5 separate regions of the Homo sapiens genome follow, and all the other regions are linked to region 3. Evidence: promoter capture Hi-C in human tissues and cell types (Jung and others, 2019). All regions are on one chromosome and are shown on one strand. Each heading gives the region's core, a stretch centred on a gene start or on the middle of the fragment in contact. The rest is flanking DNA. Distances are from core to core; before and after follow the strand shown. Region 1 has its middle 26 kb from the start of INO80C. Region 2 has its middle 910 kb from the start of MIR4318. Region 3 holds the start of TPGS2 (tubulin polyglutamylase complex subunit 2). Region 4 overlaps ZNF24TR (ZNF24 transcription regulator). Region 5 has its middle 35 kb from the start of ZNF24TR.

Evidence for each region. The method cuts DNA at HindIII sites, captures the fragments that hold promoters and counts their contacts. A contact is called where the count stands out against the background at its distance.
Region 1: a contact is called between a fragment that was not itself captured here and the fragment with the promoter of TPGS2 in region 3, in 1 of the 25 tissues and cell types used here (IMR-90 fibroblasts).
Region 2: a contact is called between a fragment that was not itself captured here and the fragment with the promoter of TPGS2 in region 3, in 1 of the 25 tissues and cell types used here (small bowel).
Region 4: a contact is called between a fragment that was not itself captured here and the fragment with the promoter of TPGS2 in region 3, in 1 of the 25 tissues and cell types used here (aorta).
Region 5: a contact is called between a fragment that was not itself captured here and the fragment with the promoter of TPGS2 in region 3, in 1 of the 25 tissues and cell types used here (heart right ventricle).

What each region holds. Positions count from the first base shown.
Region 1 is chr18:35,522,135-35,526,502 of GRCh38, forward strand. No RefSeq gene overlaps it. Among named protein-coding and RNA genes, the nearest start is that of INO80C, 26 kb to the left of the region's middle. The HindIII fragment of the contact is 5,625 bases long and covers 1-4,368 here.
Region 2 is chr18:38,569,259-38,573,176 of GRCh38, forward strand. No RefSeq gene overlaps it. Among named protein-coding and RNA genes, the nearest start is that of MIR4318, 910 kb to the left of the region's middle. The HindIII fragment of the contact is 3,564 bases long and covers 492-3,918 here.
Region 3 is chr18:36,826,409-36,830,568 of GRCh38, forward strand. TPGS2 (tubulin polyglutamylase complex subunit 2) reads right to left here and starts at 2,594. Exons shown (of 7, transcript NM_015476.4): 1 at 2,275-2,594. The coding sequence starts at 2,359. KIAA1328 reads left to right here and starts at 2,719. Exons shown (of 10, transcript NM_020776.3): 1 at 2,719-2,788. The coding sequence starts at 2,731. RefSeq lists enhancers at 1,954-2,063, 2,164-2,956 and a silencer at 2,354-2,953. The HindIII fragment of the contact is 11,405 bases long and covers 1-4,160 here.
Region 4 is chr18:35,454,059-35,458,308 of GRCh38, forward strand. The region is part of intron 1 of ZNF24TR (ZNF24 transcription regulator); the gene reads right to left. Among named protein-coding and RNA genes, the nearest start is that of ZNF24TR, 11 kb to the right of the region's middle. RefSeq lists an enhancer at 3,945-4,250. The HindIII fragment of the contact is 3,768 bases long and covers 1-3,461 here.
Region 5 is chr18:35,429,646-35,433,746 of GRCh38, forward strand. No RefSeq gene overlaps it. Among named protein-coding and RNA genes, the nearest start is that of ZNF24TR, 35 kb to the right of the region's middle. RefSeq lists a silencer at 2,578-2,791. The HindIII fragment of the contact is 7,027 bases long and covers 1-4,101 here.

The DNA.
Region 1 (4,368 bases), core at 1,442-3,941, 1.3 Mb before region 3:
TGTTTATTGAACACCTACCATGTGCCTGGTGTTGTGCTGGGGACTAAGAACAAGGAAATGAACAAGCCATGACCCTGGTTCTCAGGGGCTCTAGGTCTAGAAGGAGACAAGCATCAGAACACATCTGACCATCCCTGGATTAAATTCAACAAGAAAAGAGGTTAGCCGGAGGACTTCTTTGTGCCAAGTCCCATGTTCCAGGGTTCATTTCCTGAACAAATTGATCATGTTGTTCTTTGATCTCTTCCGCTGGTGAAAATTCATACATATTTTCCCAAAGCTATAAGTTCCTATTTTCTTAACCAGATTACACTGCTCATTAGGAAAACAAGTGAAAAAAATGAGTCCTTAATGATATAATCATCTAATTCCTTCAGAGGTAACAACACTGTCTGTGCAGCTGGGTCCTGAGAACCACATGCTCTGACAATGTCAATACTTCAAACCTTGAGGCTGAAGAACAAAAGACAGTGATACCTGTTGCCCTCCACAGCTATGGTGACAATCTGCCTGATGGCCTAGGGCCTGAGTGTGGCTCACCATATGGATTAGAGTAATAACAGTTATTGGGTATTGAGTGCTTACTGTGTGCTAATCATTGTAAACACTTTATCTTTTTTAATCCTCCCAGCAACCTCATGGGACAGGAACAATTATTATTTCTTCTTTACAGTTGAGGAAACTGGAGCACCAAGAAGTTAAGTAACTTTCCCAGGGTCACATAGCTAGTAATAGCAGATATGAGGCTTGAAGCCAAGTGTTTGGGTTTTGTTTTTCCTGAAGCTTGCACAGCTTTAGACCTCATCTGCTAACAGCACTTGTCTGTTAGGAGATGATTCTGCCTCCTTTCTTTTCCTCCTACTCAGTCCAGAGCTTCAGGGTCCCCGCAGCCAGGCAGTTATTTGGGTGTTAAGTGGCCTTATGCTATTTTTAGCTCTTAGAGGATTGCAAGTGCTTTATACATATCTCTTTACTTCTTGTTTACTTTATCTTTTCTTTTTTTGTTGTTGTTGGTTTTTTGTTGTTGTTGTTGTTGGTTTCCTTTCTTCCTTTCTTTTTTTTTTTTTTTTTTTTTTTTTGAGACAGAGTCTTGCTCTGTTGCCCAGGCTGGAATGCAGTGGCACGATCTCGGCTCACTGAAACCTCCACCTCCCAGGTTCAAGCAATTCTTGTGCCTCAGCCTCCCAGGGAGCTGGGATTACAGGTGCACACCACCATGCCTGGCTAATTTTTTTTTTATTTTTGTATTTTTAATAGAGACAAGGTTTCACCATTCACCGTGTTAGCCAAGCTGGTCTTAAACTCTTGGCCTCAAGTGATTGTCCCCCGCCCTCCCGCCCCTTGGCCTCCCAAAGTGCTGGGATTACAGGTGTGAGCCACTGCGCCTGGCCTGTTTGTTTTATCTTTTCTAAAGCTCAAAACAAATAGGAAGGAGCTTCACCTGCTCCCCCCAGGCAGCTACCGAATGAGAGTCTCTGCAGAGCTGTCAGCCAGCACTTAGTTGACACCAGCCCAGCTCCAGGCTGCAAGTGACTTGGGGGAGGATTGGAGACATGCCTGGCACACTACATGCCTGGCACACTACATGCTTGGCACACTAAAGCAGTCCTCATTTATGAGATGGGGAACAACCTCACCTGCCAGTCCTGTTTCTGCCTTTTTTACTTTTAGTTATAGAAATTTCTAAAAAAGAAGAGAAAACCCTAGAGAGATCACTCCTTGCCTCAATATGGTCCCCATCCTTGCTCTTCCTGTTCTGGAGACAACTTCCTCTTTCTCCTCTCCTTCCCAGCCCAGTACTTCCCCCCCTTCTCCTCCCTGCCATCCCCTTCACACACAAGCTCTTTTTTCCCTCTGGTGTAGTTCGACCCTATAGTAATTTCTTTCTAATTCAGATCAGTGTGCCTGTGTTACCATGGCAACCTGCTGCTACCAAGGCTTCAACGAAGTCACTTCTCCCCTATATTTTTAATAGAAAATCTGCACTCTACATCTTGTCCTATCCGACCTGCTACTGCCAGTTTGAACAAAACTCCAGCCCCAGTTTCCCAAATGTCTTTAAGTATTTTTATACATCATCAATTGAGTTAATTCCAAATACATCCATGCAATTTTCTCCATGGGGGTGTACCTGGCTTTCTCAGTGAGGGGTGGACAAGTTGAATTTGTACTTATGCAGTGGGATTGACAGGAGCTGAACAGTGAATACTGAAGAGGGAAGCGGCTCGGGCGGAACTGCTGCTGCCTCACAGGGAAGGCAGGAGCAAACCAGAAACCCAACCCAAGGAAATTCTCCAGGCCACATGGGTCAGGCATGAGCTTGTGAAATCTCCAGCCATGGAAATACCCAGAACTCAGCATACTCTCCAGGCCCTTCTGAGCAGAAGGTCGCAAGTCTGGTGCAGAGGAAATGAAGCAGCACACACTTTGGAGTCAAGCAGATTTGAGTATTATTTTCAAGTCTGTCGTTGAACTAGCTGTGCTATGTGAGCTTGGGCTAGTTCCTTAACCTCTCTGACCCTCGGCAGTTTATCTTTCAGAGTTACTGGGAGAAACACATAGGCTAATGCATGTAAAATGGTCTAAAATAGTTCTCAGTCAGCACATACTTGGTAAAGAGTAACTGCCATTATTACAGTTATTATAAGGAAAACCCTCTGAGGAAGCATCGAGATACAAAGCCAGAGCTTGGGCTCAAGAGGCATATACCAAGATTACCAAATAATCAGGCTAACTGCAGCGCTGATAACCCAACCCGAAAACACAGTCCAGACACACCAAGATTCAGGATGTAAGCAGTAATTGGGAGCAACAGCACCAGGTCTCGTTACAATTACATGCTGTCATAAGAGCAATAAGCTAGAGTTGACCCGCAAATAAACCACATGTTAACTGCTTCCAGGTCCTCTCCTCTTCTCCTTGGCCTGTTTGCAGCTGATATATGAGTTAGGCAGGCCAAGAACTGGAATGGAGCAGTGTAAGGGAGAGAGCTTGCATTTATTCCATATGGGAGAGCCAGGTGTGACCCAAAGTCAGGTCCCTGCTTGGGCCCAGAAAGGAAGGCTGGGTACACACAGAAGGAGCCATTTGACCTGAGCTGGTTCCAAAGGACTCATGAATGTAGGACTGCTTCCAAGGCTTTGAAACTCCACCTCAAAAAATATGGCATGCAGATGACTATTAAATAGTCATCTATTTGTATCATCTATACATCTTACACCTGTAATCCCAGTGCTTTGGGGAGCCAAGACAGGAGGATCACTTTAGACCAGGAGTTCGAGACCAGCGTGGGCAACATAGCAAGACCCCATCTCTATAGAAAGTAATAATAAAATAAAAAATTAGCTGAGCATGGTGGTGCACACCTGTAGTACCAGCTACTTGGGAGGCTGAGGTGGGAGGACCTATTGAGCCCAGGAGTTGGAGGCTGCAGTGAGCTATGAGCATGTCCCTGCACTCCAGGCTGGGTGACAGAGCAAAACTCTGTCTCAAAAAATAAAAAGTCTTAACGGAGTGCATAATAGAATGTTAAGACATTTTCAAATGTAAAGAGTAACAGAGACCAGATCAGCAGTGCTGTACATATGAAGAGTGTAAGAAAACAGCCACTAGCTCAGTGACCCCTTCTGAGATGTGTAAGAGGAGCTTGGAGAAGAGCAAGTCAAACTAGTGGTGGTTCCTTCTTTGGAGAGTTGTTTCCTAGGCAGCAATGACAGGAAGCAGGACAGGAAACTTGGCATGTATCTGTTGGAAGGTCGTGGGCTGAAGGTGAGACATTGTGGCTAACGCTGCCTCCCATGATGGAGGAAGAAGAGGCATGTCTCGGATCCTCCTCCAAGTCACGTGCAGCCTGGAGCTGGGCTGGTGTCAACTAAGTGCTGGCTCTGCGGAGACTCTCATTCAGTAGCTGCCTGGAGGGAGCAAGTGAAGCTCTTTCCTATTTGTTTTGAGCTTTAGAAAAGATAAAGCAAACAGGCTGGGTGCAGTGGCTCATGCCAGTAATCCTAGCACTTTGGGAGGCTGAGGCGGGCATATCACTTGAGGCCAGGAGTTCAGGACCAGCCTGGCTAGCATGGCAAAACCCCGTCTCTACTAAAAATACAAAAAATAAAAAAATAAAAAATTAGCCAGGCATGGTGGTATGCGCCTGTAATCACAGCTCTCCAGGAGCACAAGAACTGCTTGAACCTGGGAGGAGGAGCTTGCAGTGAGTTGAGATAACACCACTGCACTCCAGCCTGGGCAACAGAACGAGACTCTGTCTCAAAACAAAAACAAAAACAAAAAACAGCAACAACAAAAATGAAAAGATAAAGCAAACAAGAAGTAAAGAGTTGTGTATAAAGCACTTGCAATCCTCTAAGAGCT
Region 2 (3,918 bases), core at 1,024-3,523, 1.7 Mb after region 3:
ATTTAGAGAACTGATCCAAGGTGTGCAGATCCTTCTTCCTGGATATTCATGTGACACCAGGGCTGCAGAAGCTGAGATTGGCTGCTGAAAAGCAGTGGATGACTGTAATCTATACTCTCTGCCTCCTTCTCTGAACACCTATTTCTCTCCACAACACAATCTAGAGTTGTATCATGCATGTTCTTCTTATCCACAGTTGGCTTGCATTTTAGCCCCAACAATGCTGTTAACCTACCCCCAGGCCTAGTTGTCAAAATTAACATAAATAAATGAGTCTTGGGCCACAGGAATTAGAGCTCCTTGGCACACTGAACAAAGCAAGGTAGTGATTCTTTTGAATTTGTTCTGGGCATAGGCAGTAGGAATGGTGAATCCATCCTTCTTGGATTGCTCATATAGGCAATCAAAGCCCACATCTTTAAATGCTGAGACAACTGGATAACTGCAGTAGGTGGAAGCTGAAGAAGTATAGAATGCGTAAGAGGAAATGCTGTGTTTTCTCTATTACCAAGAGGCCTTGAACCATCTTGAAGAGGGATCCACATATCAGATGATTTTTCCGAAACATTTCGATGATGTGTTGGTGTTTCTGGTGGTCCATTGTTTTCCATATTATCCCTTGATTTCGACCAAGGTCTTTTTAGATACTCTGGGTGCTGGGAGTAATAAATTTGACAGCTTAATTTATTATAATAATTTATGTGTTTAATCTTTCTTTTTAAATGAGCCCTGTGGCTCTGCAACTGGTACATACAGTATTTATAAATACGATTAATATAGTGTCCACTTTCTGGAGCGGGATCAAACAAAACGAGAAAAATAATACTAAGTCAACTAAAAGCAGCTGGCTGGACTCTGCATTCAGCTATTTGTGAGCAATTGGGGTTTTGTTGCCCTTATTTAGTGGATGTGTGGAGTAGGTCTGTGAAGCTGAAGGGACCTTTGAGTTTCAGTTGGCCCAGGTCTGCATTTTTAGATAGGTGTATGTCTATCCAAGAGGAATGCTCTAGAGCTCCAGCTATGCAGATAACGTAAACACTTTAGCTAGAACTGACATTTCTTTAGCTGCCAAAGCTATATTTTGTACTTCATACCTTTATGGGAATGAGTGAGCACCGTGGTGGGTTAATGGAATTACTTATGCATTATTGTCCTTACTTTTGAGATGCTTGAAATTTAGAATGTAAAACGTGGTAGGAACAGAATGTCTACTCCCCTGTATGGCCAAAACCCAACAGGATAAAATAGCAATATTGGTTGTGTCCAGAAGGACTGGTAAAGTCATTTTACATGCTGAAAGGACTATAGACGCTATCCTGCAGAAGAAGGCAAACAGCAGGTGAGGAAGAGCACTTATCAACTGTCTGTTTTGGTACAGTGTAAATAAAGCTCAAGACCCTGTTCAACCAGCATCCCAAGTATGGATAGGCTTTTTTTTTTTTTTTTTTTTTTTTTTTTGGCTTGAACCGGAAACATCTATTTCAAAATTACCTGGGTCAAAACAAGCTAAAAATGACCTGGGTTAATAACCCCATAAAGAGTACAGGGACCATTCTGTGACAGGTCAGGGAAAATATGGAAAGAACAGAAGAAGGAGGGAGAAAAGGTAGCATGAGAGCCAGGGAAATAACACTCTTTATCTTCATCAATCTGATTTCCTATAACATCTGGTCATCTTCAAGGGAGAAAACGTCACAGAAAGCCTTGAAGTGTGTATAATCAAATGTCAACATGAAGCTAATGCTTCACAAGTGTATTTAATAGATAAAAAGAACACTTATAATGCCATCATGGACGACCATGAAAAGCATATTAGTAGCCTTGCAGAAATATAAATAAAAATACATAAATAACAAACAACATTTTATGAACAGCTAACACTGATATTTGTTAAGCAGATCAACCTACTTCAAAAATAAAGAAAGCTCTACACTTAATAGTTGGATTCTTTAGAAAGAAGATACATGGTTTCCACCTATAGATATAAATAATGAGAGTTGTAATAAATTACTAACACTGACTAGTTTAAAAGGCAGGTAGCACTTACTTTTCTTGACCAGTGAGCTTTCCACTACATCACAATGATGAGCTAATAAGACCTGCAGGGGTAATTTAATGAGACAAGAATAATTTGACCTGGCAAATGAAAAAGAGTGGCACAGACTTATAAGGGATACTGACTCATTTCCTATAAAATTATAAAGAAATGACCCTCCATTACAGTAAGAAAATTTTGACCAGATAGAAGGAAGTAGTTTCCGGAAGTGAGAATATACCATTAGCTTATGCCACAGAAACATATTTTATATAATGGAAATGGTTCTGCAATCGTCTATGTGGGGTAGTTAAATCTAATCTTGTCTAAAAATGAGGTAAAGAACTGGTTGATCTTGCAAGGTACTAACCAGCTCTGTGAGCTGGAAAAAATGGAAACATGTGACCTTCATGAAAATCCCTGTTTCTTTTCCTACTTCTCATTGGCAATGGGACCCTGGGGGACTGGGGCACATGTTGTTCCAGCAGAGGTCATGCTGATGACATTTCTATGGATTTTTCTCTTTCTCAAAGAATCAAAAATACAAGTGCTGGAAAAGACCTATTGCTCCCTTCTTCTGTTCCCCAGGGGCTTTACGGAATTGCTTCCAAAGTTCTTTCCTGCAATGTCCAGTCAGGTTTTAAATAAACCAAGACATGGAATATCCATCTGGGCCTCTGGAGAGATTTTTGTAACGTAATCCATCTTCTATTTAGGATATTTTTTTCTCAAAAAAAGTTCATTACAAAAGACAAACCATCCCATTCCTCTAATTGCCCCTGAATTGGTCACTAAATTCTTACTGCCACTAAAAGAACCTAATCATGTTGAAGGCTTTGTCAACTATCCAGGTGGCAAATAGAGTTTTGTGCATTTTGAATTTTCAACTATTGGATTCAGATGGCTTATTTGTCACCATTTCTCTCAGACATTTGGATTCCTACAACATAATAAATGCCAAATAGTCACTCTTGAGCTGCAACCTGCATGAAGTCTCTGAGGTAAGAGGGGAGATATGCTACACTTAGTGCCAACTCCATTCTCAGTTTTCAGGTAAATGCCAGACTGAAGATTCCACCTTTGTCCTGCCCATGGTAACTGCAGTTGTTGATGAAAACCTGTGTCTCTTGAAATAAATATTTTTTTATAAGTAAAAGGAACAAAATCAGTCCTTTAACTTCTTTGTGCTCAAATAAACCTACCTGATCAGCATGGCCAGTTTGGATGTCTGTGTGTGTGCCTATGTACTTATAGTCATATATAGTTATATATTTTGTTTCTTACTGAAGGAACGGTTGAATAGAACTATCTGGTTTAAAGGATGAGCTTGACTGATTACTGTAATTCATAGGGCCTTAATTAGCTGCACAAACCATTAGCTACAATTAGACTATTATAAAACACTTGATGCGCTATGTCAACCATGGGGCCTCATTTATTCTTGTGGCAGGGATCAGGAGGGGGAGGGCAGGCACACTATACCGCCAAGCATGCTAATAAAGAATCATTTTTGATTTAAGATGTTGCCGATAGTGCCTCAAAATTAATCTCAATAGCTGTCTAATTTGTGTCAGTGGATGGTATATTTATTGTAAAATGACACCAAAGCTAAATGAGTTACCTGAAGCAGGAGTGTTAATGTCAGTGCCTGGAGATTGGACTCCATATGCTGGGTTACAGCAAGACGCTGGTGCTGAGTGCTCCCAGTGGACGGCTTGGCCTCATCTGTCTCAGAAAGCTCAACAACTTGACTTCCACTTTTTGATTCTTAAATACTAATCATAAAAAAAAAGAGAAAGAAAGAGAGTGGAAAGAGAGACCCTGTCTGGAACACAAAGAGACAAAGAGAAGAGAGGTGAGAAAAGGAGAGAGGGAGAAAAGAC
Region 3 (4,160 bases), core at 1,344-3,843:
TGTGTGTGTGTGTGTGTGTGTGTGTGTGTGTGTGGATTCCTTAGGATTTTTTATATACAAGATCATGTCATCTGCAAACAGATAGCTTACCTTCTTCCTTTTCAATTGGATGTCTTTATTTCATTTTCTTGCCTAATTGCCCTAGCTAGAAACTCCAGTACAATGTTGAAGAGAAGTGATAAAAGTGGAATTCTTGCCATGCAGAAAAGAGTGAACATAGCAGGCCCGAGACAATAATCCTCAGAAAGGTCTGCCAATCGGGCTGCCAAAATCCTTTTGTTGTAATGAATCATAGCCATGAGTAGGACTATCTCCTGAGTCCTGTAATCCTTGCGTCAAATCATTGAATCTGGTGTGATCTTGGGGAACCCTAATACAATTTTTGTTCCTGATTTTAAGGGGAAAGCTGCCAGTCTTTCACCATTACATATGATGTTAGATGTGGGTTTTTCATAGATGTCCTTCATCAGGTTGAGGAAATTCTATCTCTATCCCATCCTATTTCTAGTTTGTTGAGTTTTTTTTAATCAAGAAAGGTTAGATTTTGTCAAATGCTTTTTTTATTAAGATGATTATGCAGTTTTTGTCTTATTCTATTAGTAAGTTGTATTATATTAATTGATTTTTTTTAAGTTTCTTTTTTTTTAGTGACAGGGTCTTGCTATGTTGTCCAGCTGGACTTGAACTGGGCTCTAATAACCCTCCCACCACAGCCTCCCCAGTAGCTGGAACTAAAGACATGGGCCACCATGCCCAGCTATTAATTGATTTTCATATGTTAAAACCACTCATTCCTAAATCACACTTGGTCTTGGACTTCTATTAAAAGAGACACAAATTTTAAAAATCAACCAAACAAATACATAATTTCAAGTAGTGAAAGTGCTATAAGAATAAAAGAAAAAGCAGGGTAAGGAAAGAGAGAGCAAGAAAGACGGCGGTTATTCGAACTATATTCAGGGAAGGTTTCTCTGAAATAATGACATTTGATCAGAGATCTGAATGACCTGAAGAAGCGAGACATTCAGAGAAAGATAATTCCAGGTGCAAGGACTAGCAAACTGCAAAAGCCCTGAAGCAGGAACCCGCTTAGTGTGTTTAAGGTACAGCTAGAAGGCCATGTGGGCAAGAGTGGAAACAAAGTCAGAAAGAGATGAGAGCAGATCTTACAGGGACTTGTGGGTCATGGTACAGACATTTGGATTTTATTATAATTGTGATGGGAAGGCACTGAAGCATGCTTTTCAGCCTTCTTAAAAGACCTTTCTCCTCCTTAGTTTTCTGGCTAACTCCTATATGTCTTTCAAAATCTAGCATCATCTCCTCTGTGACATGTTCTTTAACTTCCCTGGTAAGATCAGTCCCCTCCTCTGTGACATCTCTGAGTAACAGATTACTGACCTCTTTTCACACTCCTAGTGACCTCATTTGTTTATTTTTTTCACAGAACTGTGTCTTTTTCATATTTTTAACCTCACGTCTAACATAGTGGTGAGTACTAAAGAAACGTTTGATAGGCCAGGCGCGGTGGCTCACGCCTGTAATTCCAGCACTTTGGGAGGTCGAGGCGGGTGGATCACCTGAGGTCAGGAGTTCGAGACCAGCCTGGCCAACATGGTGGAACCCTGTCTCTACTAAAAATACAAAAAAATAGCTGGGCGAGGCAGGAGAATTGCTTGAACCCAGGAGGCGCAGGTTGCAGTGAGCCGAGATCGCGCCATTGCACTCCAGCCTGGGCAACAAGAGCAAAACTCTGTCTCAAAATACAAACAAGCAAGCAAACAAAGAAATGTTCGATAAAAGAAAAACTCTGAGTCATTCAGTGGTGCAAGGTTGGATTCCTTTCAGACCCGACGTAGTTGTCGCCCTGGGAGGTCGGGTGCATTACTTCCCCCAGAGAAAGGTCTTGGGTTTCGGGGATAATGCCCTGGCTGAGAATGCCTCCTAGGGGGAGATCCAACTTCCCAACCGTCAGGTGCTTGCTGTGTTCCCTTTGCACGTCTCTGCCCGTCCTTCCTGGGTGGGACCTTGGTTGGCGGTGAGTGGGGGAAACTTCAGGCTTCCCAGCTCTGCCTCCGAACACTCCTGGCAAACACTTTCAAGGCCTAATCACAAACCCAGGTCCCCCACTTTCCTCTGTAACAACGGAAGTCCCAGCAGCGATGTCCACTCCTGTTCTGGGGCCAGCGTCGCACCGCTCACCCCGCACCTCATCCCTCCGCTCCTCCTTCCTTCTCCTCCACACCCTCTCGGCACCGTGCCCCCTTTCCTCACCTAGGATGCGCGTGATGCCCAGGGTCAGCTTCTCCAGGTGCGGCTTGCTGCAGCCCAGCCCCGGGGACGATGCCTCCTCCTCCATGGCTCGCGACCGCGATTCGCGCGCGGCGGGAGCGGGTGGAGGGCCGGACCCCGCCTCAGCGCCGAGGCCAATTTCATGGCATGCCGGGAACGGTAGTTCTCGGCGCCTGAAAGCGCGGCGCAGTGATGATGGGGGCCCGGGGTTGGTCTGACAGCAGCAGCTCCGTGGGGCGCCGGTTCCCGCGGCCCCGCCCGGTGCCCCACACCGCACCTCCGGGACGTAGCTTCCCCTTCGCCCCCACCCTCTCGCCCCGCAGGGGCCGGCCGCGCAGGCGGGGGCGGGCCTCTGCGTGGTGCGGCCAATGGGGACCGAGCCTGCAGGCCGAGGCGTGGCGGCCCAGGCGCGACGCCCCGAGTGGCGGTTGTTTCAAGATGGCGGACGTGGCGGGCCCCTCCCGCCCCAGTGCCGCGGCGTTCTGGAGCCGGGACTGTATCCTTTGCCCGCCTGACAGGGGGCGCCGGCGCCCTCCACGGGACGGCGAGGGGCGAGCCGTCGCGTGGCAGTCCGAGAGCGGAGGAGAAGCTCCGAACTAACCCCGGGGATGGGGACGTGCTGCTCGGCCCCAGTCTAGGTGCTGGGCTCTCCCCTTGCTTGGGTGTTAGGTGGCCGAGAGACTGGTACTGTCTGCAGGTGTGGGGACACGGCTCAGATGCTTCCCAGCGCTCACTACCGGTGAGCTCGAGAAAGATAGCCTTGAGTCCAGGCTCAGTCCAGGGCTGAGATGGCCCTCCGAGGTCCCTCTGCCCACCCTGTCAGAGTGCCCCCAGGCTGACTTGAGTGTGCGGAGCTAGCTCGAAGTTGAGGGAGGAGTCGGTGTTGGCTGGACAGGGAGCCTTTTTGTTTTGATTTAGGATTGTCTTTAGTCTGCATTGCTAGGAGCAAGTCAGGACCTTTCGGACTTAAAAGGCCCTCCAGTGATGATGTATTTTAATACTGGGGTTTTAGGAGAGGTGTGGAGCTTGGTTACTGGGATGTGGTCTGGTGGTGCTGGTTACTGCGTAAGATGGGAATCATTGTGCCTGGAAGTATTGTTGACTTACTTGTGGAGTGCGGGTCACTGGCAGTCATTGAAGTTCTTGGATCGTTGTGAGGTGGAGAAGCAGTGGAACTTTTTAGTCCAGTGGTAGTATTACCAGTTCAGCAGCAGTGATGAGATGTTTGTGTGACAGGAGTGTTTCTTTCCTTGGAGTAGGTAGACTCTTCTCGCTTGAGCTTTGGTCCTGATAATTTACTTCACGTTCCTTAGAGGGGTTACTTGAAAGAGGGACGGCAATCTGTGTTACTGAGTGCTTGCAGAGGCAGCTCTTTTTGTGTTTGCTAGGATTGGTGATGGCATTAATTGAGGCGTTGCTGTTACCTTTGGCAGAATCACTGGGCATTCTTCTTAGCTCCCAGTGAAACTTACAAAACTGTGTTATCAACTCCTTTGTTGAGTTACTAGGATTAGTGTCATGTGTAGAGAGAGGGATATGTTTGTATTCTGTGCTGCTCGTGTTTAGTGTTTGCACTTACTAGACATAATTACCATTTGTCTCTGATAGGTTGGTGAAAAGCAAATGAAATCATGTACATACACTGTGGATGAAAGCATACTAGTGCAGTGTGCAAATTAAATATTTTTTCCTTTACCTTTCAGAAGAGAATATGTGCACTGTGGACAACTGGGCTGAATTAGGAAGTTAGGAAATTGGGATAAGTCTTTTCTCAAGAAACACTGCTTCTGCATTGACATAATTTTGTGATGGAGGAGATACTTGAAGGTTATTAGCTTATAGCATCCTATGGTACTGTTCAAATATAG
Region 4 (4,250 bases), core at 328-2,827, 1.4 Mb before region 3:
TAACCCATATAACCAAAATGATCTTGAAAAGAACAAAGTTGGAGGATTCACACTTCCTGATTTCAAAACTTACTAAAAATCGACATTAATCAAACAGTGTGGTACTGGCATGGGAACAGATGTATAGACCAATGGAATAGAATTGGGAGCCCAGAAATAAACCCTCACATGTATGGACAATTGATTTCTGACAAGGATGCCAAATCATTTAATGGGGAAATGACAGTTCCTACAACAAATGGTGCCAGAAAAATGGAATATTTACATGCAAAGGAATGAAGTTAGACCCTTATCCTACACTACATACAAAAATTAACTCAAAATGCATCAAAGACCTAAACATATGAGCTAAAACTGTATAACTCTTACAAGAAAGCAGCAAAAATATATTTGTGACATTGGATTTGGCAATGACTTATTGGATATGACACCAAAAGCACAGGCAACAAAATAAAAAATTGATAAACTGGACTTCGAAAAAATTTTTGAAGTTTGGTGCACCAAAAGACACTATCCAAAAAATGAAAAGACAACATTCAAAATGGGAAAAATATTTTCAAATCATATATTTAATAAGGATCTAGTATTCAGAATATCTAAAGAACTTTACAATTCAACAACAAAAAGACAACCCAATTTTAAAATGGCCAAAGAACTTGAACAGATATTTCTCCAACAAAGATATACAAATAGCCAATAAGCACATGAAAAATGCTCAACATCATTACTCATTAGAGAAATTCAGTCAAGCCACAATGAGATGCTACTTTACACCCACCAGAATGGCCATAATGAAAACAAAACCAAAATTAACAAGTGTTGGTGAGCATCTGGAAAAATTGGAACCCTCATCCATTGCTAGTGGGAATGTCAATTGATGCAGCCTCTGTGGAAAACAGTTTGGTGGTTCCTGTAAAAGTTAAACACAGAATTATAATATGACTCAGCAATTTCACTCCTAGATATATACTCAAAAGAACTGAAAACAAATATTCAAACAAACACTTGTACATGAGTGTTTATAGCAGCACTATTTATAATAGCCAAAAGGAGGGAGAAACTCAAGTGTCATTGATGGACAATGGATAAACAAAATATGGTTTACCCACACAATGGAATATTATTCAACCATAAAAAGGAATGAAATTCTGATATATGCCATAATGAAGATAAACTTTGAAAACATTATTCTAAGTGAAAGAAGCCAGACACAAAAGGTGACATATTATATCATTCTATTTATATGATTCTCCTTATACAAAATAAATAGAATAGCTCAGTCCACAGAGACAGAAAACAGATTAGTGGTTGGCAGGGGCTAGAGGGAGGGGGAAATGACTACTAATAGACTGGGGGCTTCTTTGAGGGGATTATAGAAATGTTCTAAAAATCAGATAGTCGTGACAGTTGCACAACCTTGTGAATATATTAAAAACCACTGGGTTGGACACTTTAAAAGGCTTTTTAATATATGTAATTTATATCCCAGTTTTTCAAAAAAAAAAGAGAATCTATCATAGAAATATATATCACAAAAGTGAATACTACCGCTTGTAAATAAATTTTTTAAAGACCATTTATAATAGCAACCAAAAACCATAAAATATTTAGGAATAAATTTGATAAAATATGCGCAAGGCTTCTATACTGGAAACTATAAAACATTACTGAGAGAAATTAAAGAAGATCTAAATAAATGGAAGGATGAGTCAAGTTTATGTTTCAGAAAACTCAATATTAAGATACTCATTCTTTTCCAATTGATCTATAGGTTCAATGCAATTCCAATCAAAATTGTAGTAGGCCTTTTTAATATATATATAAACTTTTTTATAGAAACTAATAGTCTGATTTTACCATATGTTGTGCTGTTTAAGTAGCCAACAGGAAGCCACTTCAGGCTCTGGGAAATCTTTGTTTTATGGAAATGAGCAGCATTAGAACCTTCAGCTAGGAGTGGATGAGTTGGATTTTGCTTAACTCGGGGATCCTTTGATTCACTAGTTACTACTCAAGGGAAAATGAGGAAACAGCCCAGAGAAATGAATACTATCAGATCATTCTCTAAGTGTGGGCCATACTCAGAAATGAGTTTGGAGATGTTGAAGTCACTCAGTAGCTCTATGGCTTCTTTGATTGGCTGATTGTTTTGTGAGACTTCTAAACCTTGTTTCCTCTTGAAATGCCAAATCCATTGCTAACTAAATGAGACAACCCGTAAGGAGGACTTGACAAAGCATACAGGACACTCAGTAAAAGCTGAGCTGCACCCTTCCTGGACCTGGCCTTTTTGGGTCAGGTTTTCTGTGTTGACTCATACACAGATGAAGGTCGTGCTCTGGACAAGGAAGAACATAAAACCAGAAAAAAAGCTGGCAAAGAGTAAAACACAGGGGATGGGGACCAGGACCGAGATAGGAAGAAGCCCAAGAGACAGATGAGCTGCAGACATGACAGGGAAAACAAAACAATGAGATGCTAAGATTGCAGAGTTGGGCAGGTCTGCATGACAGGGTTCATGGAGTATATTTCAGTTTTTCAAAGACCGTTGCCAGGACTTTTTTTCCATTTATTTCTTTATGGCTGGGTGCAGCGGTGACTCATGCCTGTAGTCCCAGCACTTTGGGAGGCGGAGGCAGGCCGATCACTTGAGCCCAGGAGTTCGAGGCATGCCTGGGCAACATGGCAAAACCCTGTCTCTACGAAAAAATATAAACATTATCCAGGTGTGGTGGTGCGTGCCTGTAGTCCAGCTATAGGGAGGCTGAGGTGAGAGGATTGCTTGAGCCTGGAAGAGGGAGGTTGCAGTGAGCCAAGATGGCACCACTGCACTCCAGCCTGGGTGATGGAGTGAGACCCTGTCTCAAAAAAAAAAAAAAAAAAAAAGAGAAAGTATTTTATAATTTGAATGGTATTACAATGTGTTATGTACCACAAATATGCAAATCAAGACACTAATGTTATATTTTGAGATATCTGTACTCAGAACAAGAGAAGCTTCTTCCCAAATTTCCCTTTGAGAGCATCTCTCCCCTTCTCAAATCGTCCCTCTCCCCATAAAACAATGGCAGCTCAAGAAACATTTGATGGATGAAAATCAGACACATATTGATAACCTCACCAACTACTGCAGGAAAGAATGGGCTAGGCTTTGCATATGCACGATGAGGTATGGAATCTACTTGTTTGGTTTTATTGCACCTAGCTATCACCGGAAAGCACTGCTTCTTTATCACAATTCCTACAGGGTAGAATGTGGTGGAGTAACTGGGCATTCTGAGTCATTTCCAAAAACTCTTTAAAGGGGTGTTCTGCAAATAATACTATTTCTTAAGGTAGGAGCAACTTTCACAATCTGTTCAAGTCCTAACAAGTAATATATTACATTTTGAATCAGAATAAGTCAAACCAGAATTTTTAAAGTACATATTAATAATAGTTCTTGTGGATTGTGTAATAGTTAAAATAGCAGTTAAAAAAAAAAGAAAGAAAGAAAGTGGATTTCCCACTTAGTAACTAGTTGATACTTTATCGTAACTAAAGTTTGAAAGGCAGCATTTGGGATTCATGAGTAAGATTTTCTTCCATGACACCTGACCAAGCAATTGCTGCTCCATTCTTTCCTGCAGTAACCTTTATTATGATTTTAAAATAAACTTTGAAATTTAAAACAGTTTCAGATTTACAGAAAAGTTACAAAGATACTACACAGTTCTACAGCTCCAACGCCAAGTTTCCCCTATTATTCACATCATAACACTAGTGTGACACATTTGTTAGAATTAACGAACCAATAGTGATATGTTGTTATTAACTGAAGTCTATAGTTTATTCAGATTTCCTTATGTTTTGCTTCGTGTCCTTTTTCTGTTCCATGGTCCCTTCTAGGACACCAGATTTCACTTAGTTGTCATGTCTGCTTAAGCTTCTCTTGGTCGTGACGGCTTTTCAGACTTTATTTTTGATGGCCTTGTCAGTTTTGAAGACTACTGGTCAGGTACTTTTTAGAATGTCCTTCAGTTGGGATTTGTCTGATGTTTTTCTCATAATTAGGCTATTGGGTGTTGGGAAGGAGACCACAGAGGTGAAATGCCATTCTCATCACATCCTATCAAGGGTACACGGTGTCAACATGACATCACTGTGGGCATTAATAGGATGATTTTTTTTTTTTTTTTACCTTACCAGGGAAGCATGGAGCTCCCTGAAGGATGAGCCAGACCTCAGTTTCCAGGCATATGTGGGAGAGG
Region 5 (4,101 bases), core at 431-2,930, 1.4 Mb before region 3:
TAACAAATTACAGCAAATTTAGTGGTTTAAAATAATACACATTTATTTTCTTACAGTTCTGGAGGTTAGAAGTCCAAATCAGTCTTTTTTTTTTTTTCTTTTTTTTGAGATGGAGTCTCGCTCTGTCACCCAGGCTGGAGTGCAGCGGTGCCATCTCAGCTCACTGCAACCTCCACCCCCCAGGTTCAAGCAATTCTCCTGCCTCAGCCTCCCAAGTAGCTGGGACTACAGGTGTGTGCCACACATCAGTTAATTTTTGTATTTTTAATAGAGACGGGGTTTTACTATGTTGGCTAGGATGTCTCAAACTCCTGACCTCAGGTGATCCACCTGCCTCGGCCTCCCAGAGTGCTGGGATTAGAGGCGTGAGCCACCACGCCTGGCCCAAATCAGTCTTAGTGAGCTAAAATTAAAGTGACAGCAGGCCTGCTTCCTTTCTGGAGGCTCTAGGGGAGAATGTGTTTCCTTGCTTTTTCCAGTTGCTAGAAGCCACCACATTCCTTAGCTCATGGCCCCTTCCTTCATCGTCAAAGCCAACAATGGTACATGTCTCTGGCCATTTGTTTTGGTATTTACATTTTCCTTTCTGACTGTCTCTTTCACTTTTAAGGACCCTTAACATTATATTGGGCCCACTTGAATAATCTAGATTTTTCTCTCTGTTTTAACATCAGCTCACTAGCAACCGTAATTTCATCCACAACTTTAATTCTGCTTTGCCATGTAACCTAACACAGTCACAGGTACCAGGGATTAGGACATGAACATTTTTGAGGGGGTGTCTGCCACAGTCCCCTCCTCAATTATTTATCCATAGGTTTTAGGCATATGGTTAGGGGTAGGAGCCAGGAGATGCCAATAATAACAGGACTGGAAAAACCATGAGAGAAGGGATTCAAGTTCTGCATAAGAAACTTCAAGGAAAGTTTTCCAGTGTCACTATCATAAATAAAAGAGATATGAAATCTTCACAAAAAGGTGCAAGGCAAACTGAGAAACTCCTTTGCATGACTTGCCAGTCTTGGCTGCATTCAGAATTTGTTTGGAGAAGGAAAAGGCCCTTCCTTTTTCTCTCTAAACAGAGATTCAGTAATGCCAAATGGGCCCTCGTTGATGGAAAAAATCACTATGTAACTTTAAAAAAATTATAGAAATGTAAATCAGTGATGACAACAAGTCTTTGGCCCATCTGATAAGGTGGCTGGTGCCCACTGCTGGTGGCCTTTGCTGGGGCTCAAATAGAGAAGAGCCACCAGGATGAGGGTAGGGTCCCCAGCATCCCCTCTCTGTGAGTCAGCTTACAAAAGGCCATGTTGACTTGGATGTGAATCACGCCTATCTGTTCCAAGCAAGATTAAAAACCCAAGAAAATTATTGTTGAGCAAGGTGTTTTATGACTTTAGCTTACTTCCTTTTTTGAAACATTAGGAAATGTCAAAGTTAGTTTGTTCAGATTTATTAGAGAATGTGTGGAAAAGGGAAAACCTAAAAAACAAAACAAGAACAAAACCGCTTGTGGTTGGTTGACGCACAACTGTCTCTTGGGCATCATTTCTAGGCAAAGATTGTCATTTTGTAAACAAGGGTTTATCTCCCAGACTTCCTTGTTTTTGGATAGCTGATTGCCAGACATTGCTGGCACATGCATACTCACACAGTTATCTATACTTGTTCCTTGCTGCTTATTGCTCATGCTAAAACCTCTTGAATGTAAGGTTTTCAAACAGTAACATTTCCAAATACTAACACTTTGGCATTCTCACGTATATACTTTGTGTATTCGGAAGTTGTATTATTAACGTGGTGCAAACCTTGTGTTTAGTTTAATTAAACAGCAATGCTTTGCTATGTTTATTTCTTGGAGGGTGTGTGTGTGTGTGTACGTGTTCCATGCATGCCTCACATTTCTATTTGCATATGTGCATAAATCAAGAAAGCAACCAAATAAACAAACGCTGTTCTACTTCCCTACTAAAGTGACTTTTAAAGACTTATTGAATTATATTTTAGTGAATTTGAGTAAAGCATTTAAGTGCAGGGCAAATTAGAGCAAGCAAAACATTCGAGCATACATAACCATTTTATCTTGGCTCATGGCCCCTTCTTCATCTTCAAAGCCAACAATGGTGCATGTCTCTGGCCATTTGTTTTTGGGATTTAAATTTACATTAAAACAAATTTAAATTAAAATTTGTTTTAAATTTTAATTTAAAACAAAATTGTGGCCACAGCATGGATTGTGCTTCTATATTTATTTGCTCAGCTTCAAAAGTAAGACTAGTCCAGCCTTTATCCTGGGCAGGCTGTGGTCAACAAGCCACCAATCTCTTCAGTGGGGCCAATATCAGAGGACTGGCATGGGGACCTCAGATATCCATCAGGTTCCTCTCTCAGGAACATGGGAGCAGTGATCTTTTGGGGGGCCACATGGACACTGCATCCCCTGCCTTGGGCACTGGATGGTATTATCTTGCTGGAATTCCCTTCCAACTCTGCCAAGAATGTCTTTGAGACAGAGAGACTGATGGGAAGAAAGTGAGGAGGACCAGCTCTAATGAGGTTCAACTGCAGAGGTTTCAGTGTTGGTTGTGCTGTTTGACTTCACTGGGACCCCATCCTCCAGTTTCAAGCACTTCTCAGAACTCATGATTATTCCTCAATCTGAAACTTTAGAGAGGTTGGGGGACCACTTCAGACACCTAAGGGCAACAGAAAGGAAGCGCCGTGTGCCAGCACTCTACTGTCATTCGTGGTGAAAAGCTTCCTTCTCTTTCCTATTTTTTGTGGTTGGCAAAATATAAAAGGTCTTTCTACTTATTTCAAAAGGAAAAATAGAATGAGGGAGGGAGGGGGAGGTAAAGGCAGAAAGAGAGAGATCAGTTCATTTTTGTTTGGGGAAAACTTTTAGTCTATAACAGCAGCAAACATGTATTGTGGCAGTGGCCTCAGCCCTGCTGAAGGAAATCCAGGCCACATTAAAATCTGGGGAATTTGAAACGGCAGTGTTTGTAGTGGCCTGCAGATTTCCACTGGCAATTTCTTTAAAGCCAAAGAGTTATAATTAAAATAGAAATGGATCCAATTATTTCTGCCTCCTGTCTGAAAGGATGTAGCTGGTAATGAGAATCACATGTCTAAATTTCAGCTCCTTCTATTTCCAAGCAAGTTGCCCCATGAGAGAAATTCTTTCTTTTCAGCAAATCTCAGTAAACCACATTTCTCCCTCCTCCTTAGCTACTGTGGTTTTGCACTGATTTTTACAAGTCCCAGCAATGGAACTCAGTCATAGTAAATGTTCTTATTTTTCTCTCCTTTCTACTCTTTATAAGACATGTCAGGGTGATAAGACTTATTTTTTTGTTTCAAAGAGACAGAGATTAGAAGAGTGGGAGGGCTTAGTCTTAACCAGAAAAGATTTACCTTATCAGGAACAACAGGCTAGGTAGCTTGGCCATTGCCACTTGGGATATTCTTAGGCTAAGGGAGGGAGGTGAGGAGGTGACTAGGTGATGGGGGTAGAAGGGGTGTGTAAGGTGGTATAGGTGTACAGGGAGGCCAGTCTTGGGAAGAATTTTACCCACTGGGTGAGTGAGGCTCAGATAACATGGTGGTCAACAATGTGCCTTAGAAATGGCAAAGCCTATACTGGGACAGAATGCCATGGTCACCATGAATAAATATATAATACTGTTGTTCTTATCAGCATTACTGACTATTCATGATAGATTTGATCTGTGCAGTGCAGATCTATTCAAGTTCCAAAGGACATTCCAAGCCTCCATTCCTTCCACTTGCAGAGCCAGCCCCCAGTGCCAAGATGCTATATACATTCACATACAAGCCTTTGTGTAGACACGTGTTTTCATGTGCTTATTGGTCATTAGAATATCTTTTTTTTGGTGAAATAGCTACTCAAATCTTTCACCCATTTTAAATTTAAGTTGCTTGACCTTCTATTATTGAATCATAAAAGTTTGTTATGTATTCTAGATACAAACCCTTTATCAGACATGGATCTGCAAATATTTTCTCATTGTCTGTGATTCATCTTTTTTTAAATGGTCTCTTTTGTAGGGCAAATGTTTTTAATTTTGATGAAGC